2 separate regions of the Homo sapiens genome follow, and region 2 is linked to region 1. The links are contacts of gene promoters, found by promoter capture Hi-C in blood cells and fetal thymus (Javierre and others, 2016). All regions are on one chromosome and are shown on one strand. Each heading gives the region's core, a stretch centred on a gene start or on the middle of the fragment in contact. The rest is flanking DNA. Distances are from core to core; before and after follow the strand shown. Region 1 holds the start of CCDC93 (CCC complex scaffolding subunit CCDC93). Region 2 has its middle 30 kb from the start of EN1.

Evidence for each region. The method cuts DNA at HindIII sites, captures the fragments that hold promoters and counts their contacts. A CHiCAGO score of 5 or more calls a contact.
Region 2: a contact is called between a fragment that was not itself captured here and the fragment with the promoter of CCDC93 in region 1, in 1 of 17 cell types (non-activated CD4 T cells). The highest score is 5.8, in non-activated CD4 T cells.

Annotation. Positions count from the first base shown.
Region 1 is chr2:118,012,364-118,015,485 of GRCh38, reverse strand. CCDC93 (CCC complex scaffolding subunit CCDC93) reads left to right here and starts at 1,416. Exons shown (of 24, transcript NM_019044.5): 1 at 1,416-1,532. The coding sequence starts at 1,491. RefSeq lists silencers at 1,209-1,408, 1,879-1,928. The HindIII fragment of the contact is 9,438 bases long and covers 1-3,122 here.
Region 2 is chr2:118,875,731-118,878,852 of GRCh38, reverse strand. No RefSeq gene overlaps it. Among named protein-coding and RNA genes, the nearest start is that of EN1, 30 kb to the right of the region's middle. The HindIII fragment of the contact is 5,915 bases long and covers 1-3,122 here.

The sequences.
Region 1 (3,122 bases), core at 167-2,666:
CTTAGGGCAGTTCCAACTATTTGTGAGCTCTGGCTCCAGACAAACCTCTGTCTGTCAGGATGAACTCCAGGAGGAGTACAAAAGGTGCAAAAATAAAATAAAATAGAAAACATCATATATATATACACGTATATATATACACACATATATACACGTATATATATATACACACATATATATATATACACGTATATATATATAGTTTTTAGACAGGGTCTTGCTCTGTCACCCAAGCAGGAGTGCAGTGGTGTTATCATAGCTCACTGCAACCTCAACCTTCCTGGCTCAAGCAATTCTCCCACCTCAGCCTACCGGCTAGCTGGGACCACTGGCACCGGGCTAATTTTCTTATTTTTTGTAGAGATGGAGGTCTCACTATGTTGCCCAGGTTGGTCTCCAACTCCTAGGTTCAAGTGATACTCCCGCCTCGACCCCCAAAGTGCTGGGATTACAGGCATGTGCCACCGCGCCTGCCTACTCTTTTAAAGACGCTAGGGATGCAAAGAAGAGACGAAAGCAAACACGAAACCTTTTTGATCTCAAGGAACTAAAGGTCTGAGTCTGACACTTCCCATCCCACACACATATACAGAGGGAAGGATCTCTTCTCCAGCAAAAGTTTTCACGAAAGTCATCTCTTTCCTCATTGCTTAAAAGAAACAAAAAGCCAAGAAGCCGTTATGGAGCGGGTGTGGGGGCCTGTGACCTTTTGTCTAGTTGCCATCCTCCGGGACCAACAAGGGGTACATCAAATAAGGGACGCGGCGGCTCAAATGACATGAACATAGGAGTCCGCATTCTCTGAGATGTCATTCCTCCAGGAAGACCCAGGAACCGTGAATAGGGCGGGGTGGTGGGCAATATCTGAAGCGAGGTTTCCTGGGAACGCGATGCCACTGGCCAGGACGCTGGAGAGGGCAGCGGGCTTGAAGAATCCCTTCTCAAGGGGTCCGTTCCTGGGTCGTATATGGAGAAGTCTGTCCAAGCGTGTGTCTGTAAGGTCTAGAGCCGGGCGTGCATTCAGAATCCTCAAGCTCATCTGTACTTGGACTCTGACCCTGAAGCGAGGCGGTTTCCGAAGTCTGATTCACCGAGGGGACAGGACCTATTTGGGGCATCCGATGGCAGCGAGAAGAGAAGGGAGCCGAAATGCAAAATATTCTCAAGATGCAGGAGGAACCCCTCTCAAAGAGCGCCACGGAGAAAACTTCAGAGTACGGGCGCGATGATCCAGCACAACGCCAGGACCTGCAGCCCAGCCCACCTCTCCCCGGGCTGCTGTGGCGCAGGCGCAGTGGCGCCGCGCTCCGGCCCCAGCGCGCATGCTCTGCCCGGCTGCGGCGCTTCGGGCAGGCGGCGGCGGCGGCGGCGGCGGCGGCAGAGGGAGTTTCCGCTTTGTACTCCACCCCGGTAGCAGCTCCGCGGCAGGGACAGCTTCCTCCGGACGCTTGGCGGGCTTCGCTCTCGCCTTACGACAGCCCGGTCGGATCATGGGGTTGCCCAGGGGGCCGGAGGGCCAGGGTCTCCCGGAGGTAAGAACGCCTCCTCCTTCCCTGACACGTCGGGGTTCCTGAAGAGAGGGCCGAGCCGCGGGGCGGCGGGCTGAGCGGGCCCTGGGTGCGTTAGGGGCGCCCCGCCCCCTTCCTCAGGCGTATCCACCTCAGGGAAGCGCCGACCCTCTTCTTGGAGGCGGGGAGCAGGTACCCCTGCATGGGCAGGGGGCGGCGGGCGGGTGAGGACAAACTTAAGCCGCTCCCGGGTCTCTTGGGGCGCAGGTGGCCTTCCTAGCCCGACACCTGCTCTGACGCAGCCCCACGCGCCGCGGGGTCCTGGGCTCCCACCTTTCTCCCTGTCCGGGACGGGCTCCCCCACCCCGCGCCGCAGGGCTAGCCCCGAGGGCCGAGGCTGCTGGGCGCTGGAGTCACGAGACCGCTCTCCGAGGCGGTTCGGGCTCGGGTGGTGACCTTGGGACGTCTACCGCCACCCCGCAGAGTCCCGGCGGCCCGCCCCACCCGCCTTGCTGTCGGGAGGGAATGCCACCCTCCTTGCGTGGACCCGGGCCGGGGCGGCGGGAGGAAGTTTGGGAGACTTGCGCGCACCAGGGAGGTGTCCCGCTGGGTCAGCGCGCCGGGGCGTTCGGGGTGGGACGCACTCCAGGGGTGCTGTGTGGCGGGGGACCCGGCTCTGGGCGGAAAGGCTGCGGCTTCTCCAGAAGAGGGCGGGGTTCTTTTCCAAAGGTGTTTGTTAAGTACTCACTTAGTGCTAGGGAGGGGGTCATGAGTGGTTTGCGGATTTCCACGTTTGCTGGGAATACAGGGAAAGTGTATTCATTTTCTTTTGGCTGCAAATACCACTTAGCATCTCATAGGTAGTTTGCATCTGTCGTCCCTTTCAGTTGATTTTACTCAAAGGCTAGTCTAGTTTACTGGATTCTGGAGAGAAATGGAAGCCACGCCGCACCTCTGCCTTTTTCCTAAGGTTCTGGAGCAGGCATTGGGCAGGGTGACTGCTTGCTTGACGTGGTGAGTCGTCCCTTCACACTTACCTGCCAGTGACCAATGTTACTCCTCTGCATTCCTCCCAAATCCTCAGTTCTTTCATATCACAAGTATCCACTAATTGAGGGATCACTGTGTTCTGTGTCCAGAAGCTGGGAATATATATAGTCTGAAAGGACAGATTTGTTTGTCAGTGTGTGCTCCCCGAATGCAAGTCCATTTTGTTGTCTTAAGAAAACCTGACAAGCATAATGTTGTCAGAACCCCTGTATTAGGTAAAATCTTACATGCACGTTGCCTGGGATGGGACCCAGGATAGTGAACAATAGGATTTGTACTGTGACATTTGAAGTTTTCTTTTTTGCCACTTCTGTATTCTAGGCTCTCATCAAGTTTTTGCCTGGCCTTTTGCTGTAGACTTCTGTCTGGTCTCCCACGTTCTACTTTAAATCCGTCCAACCCAATATTCCACAGTACTATCAGTGGAGGTCTTTCTGGGGGGAAAATAAATAAATTAATTAATGAAGAGCAACCTGCTGCTGTATGTCCTTCGTTTAAACTTTCACTGACTGCTAAGAGGCCACACTCACCAGGTCAAGCAATAACTTATCATCATTTAGTTCA
Region 2 (3,122 bases), core at 232-2,731, 860 kb before region 1:
AAGCTCCAGGTGCAGCTGAGCTGTCAGGGAAGGGTGGAGCATGAGGGGTGGCTCACTGAAGGAGTGATGGAACTGGCACCTGAGGCCAGCCTCAGCCTCTTCCATTTCATAATCCACTGGATGAGTCACTGCCCACAGTTGACCTCTGAGAGCCCAAAACAAACGAGGAGTATGCTGGCACCCAGAGAGAGGGATACTCAGCTTCTTTGGACACCTGGTTGGTAACAGAGCTGAGAGCAGTGCCTGAGCTGACTGCTCCTCTCTATAGCCAACAGCATGGGCTTCCTGCTCCTGCTCTAGCAAAGGGAATGGGATTTCTTTAGGATGAGCCTGGCTGGATTTCCTGCCAAGGCATCTACAGTGGCAATGGGGTTGAAAAGCTAGGAGGGGCCAGCCTTGGTGGTGTGGTTTGCTGTGCAGATGGAGCCACCCTGAGTTCAAGAAACCCAGCAGGATGAGGACAGTGAGCACAGGCTCTGTGTTGGCCACATACTGGGTTAGAGGATAGCTGAATTGTTGGGTCATCCATCCATCATTCATTCATTCCTTCACTTAAAACTCACCTACTTCCAAAAGATATTTACGGCAGCTTAAAATACATCTAATATTGAAGGTTAAATGAAAGATAACATGACACAACCACTTTAGAAAACTGTCTGAAAGTTTCTAACAAATGTAAACACACACCTATCCTTTGGCTCAGCAGTTTCATCCCTAGGTCTTTACCCGAGAGAAATGAATCTATATATGCCCACAAAAGACTTCAAAATATTTGTAGCAGCTTTATTCATCATACCACCAAATTAGAGATGTCCTTGTGTCAGTCAAAGGAGAATGAATAAACAAACTATAGTACATTCATACGATAAATTTCTATTCAGTAATTAAAGGGGACAAATTTCCAAATATGTACAACCACATGGATGAATCTTACAGAAATTATGCTGAGTGAAAGAAGCCAGATGCAAAAGTGTATGTTCAGTTATCCCTTGGCATCCTGGGGGAATTGGTTCCAGGATCCCAGTGGACGCTAAACTCCATGAATGCTCAAGTCCCTTATGTAAAATGGCATAGTATTTGCATATAACCTACGCACATCCTCCCGTGTGCTTTAAATCATCTCTAGATTATGTATAATACCTAAAACAATATAAATGCTATGCAAATAATTATTATGTATTTTTATTTATATAGTTTTTATTGCTGTATTGTTATTTTTTATTGTTTTCTTCTTCAAATATTTTTGATCCACAGTTGGTTGACTCCATGAATGTGGAACCCATGGACAGAGAGGGTTGACTGTATTTATGAGTCCACTTATGTGATGGTCAAGAAGCAGCAAAAGGAATCGATGGAAACAGCATTCAAAATGGTGGCCACCTTAGCATGATGGGGAGCAGGAAGGGAGTGAGTGAGAGGAGCCTGTGGGACTTTCTGGGAAGATGGAGATGTTGAATATCTTGATTTGGGTGGGAATCACACAGGAGTATACATTTGTCAAAACTCCTCAAAATGTACGCTTAAAATCTGTGCATTTCAGTCTCTATAGAATATACATAAAACAAAGCAGAACAAGTAGAAACAACAGCAAACACCTCTATGATTTTCTTATAAAACAGGGAGGCAGTCTAGAGCCAGATGGGCTGGATTCGAACACCTTTCCAGCTCCTACCAGTCAACCGAAAAGTCAACCCAAGGGCTGGTTAATCCAAGTAACATCACCAAGCCTTTGTAGATAACTTCATGGTTTACAAACCCCATTCCAGCTCTTACCCCGTTACAGCTCTTACCAGCTCTTACCAGTGCCCACAGTCACACCTAGTGGATGGTAAACTCTGTTTAAAAGAAATATTAACCATTCAGGAAATGGGGCCTTTACTTGGAGACCATAAATTAAGGGTCTCCAAGATGGGGCTTTAGGAAAGGGCTCATGAACCTCTTGAAAGTAGTTGCAAATTCACTGTGCATAATGTGCGTTTGTGTTGGGAGAGGGTGTATAGCTTTCAATCAGACTCTAATATGATTGCTCCAGGACTCCAGAATGAGATGATTCATACAGATGAACATCAAAGTTAAACCCCAAGGCTCCTGTTTTTCTTTTCCCTAGAAGTGAGTTCCAAACACCAGCTTACCCACAGGGGAGGGAATTACACAGTGCGTGGGTCCCAGGAGGTGGGAATCCCAGGAGCCACCTCAGGGTCTGCTCTCACAGGAGGGGATGAGTAAGTCGCAAATGTGGGTTTCTTGTGATTTAACAAAAAACAAGGGTGAGGATTGAGTTTTCATAGCTTTGTAAGGGAATGATGCCTATCTGAGTGGACTACTGGACCACAGACATAGCGGGCAGGTGGCAGGGCTGGGTCAGGGGAGATGGAGGTAAGAGAAATCCCTGAGCTTGCAGAGAAGCTGTGCTTCAGATGATCGGGGAGGGAGGAAAGGGACTTGGGAGGCAGGACAAACTATGGAGTGGGAACTCCCCACCCCCGCCACCACCACCATTTCCCCTTCTCTATCATCTCCTCCGTCCTCACTTCTTGGTTTCTTGCACCAGGAGAAAGCTCTTGGTGTCTCTTTTTGAGGTCCTAGCAGTTGTTTCTACTCAGAACATGAAGAATGGTGGCGGAGCCTGGCCTAGCCCCGTGGTGGGGTAAAGTTGACAAATGGGTTGTTCATGGGCAGCGGAGCAGGATGGAAGTCAGATTTAAAGTCTGGATCCACGGTGGTCCAGGGGACCTCAATAAAGGGTTTTTCCTTCAATGTGCCTCAACTCATTGCCTATAAAATGAGGGTAAAAATCTCTCCTTCACGTAGTGTGTTAAGGTCTAAACTATACGGGGCATGGCATGTAGCACTTAGTAGGGCTCTGCATACAGTAGGCACTACAGTAAATCTCCCACAGCTACTATGGGCCCACTGGTGATTCTGATCATTTTACCTACTGTTGTCTGGCCAGTTAAGTGAATGTTACTTGGGTTTATGAATTCATTCAGCAAATAATCCTTGAGTTGCTACTAAGTGCTAGTGCTGTGCTGGGGCCCTGGGACACAGCAGAGAATAAGATGGACACACAGTCATGTCCTTCTGGGGTCCAGCCCTCTCTGAGCCACTGGTGTCTGCTGGGT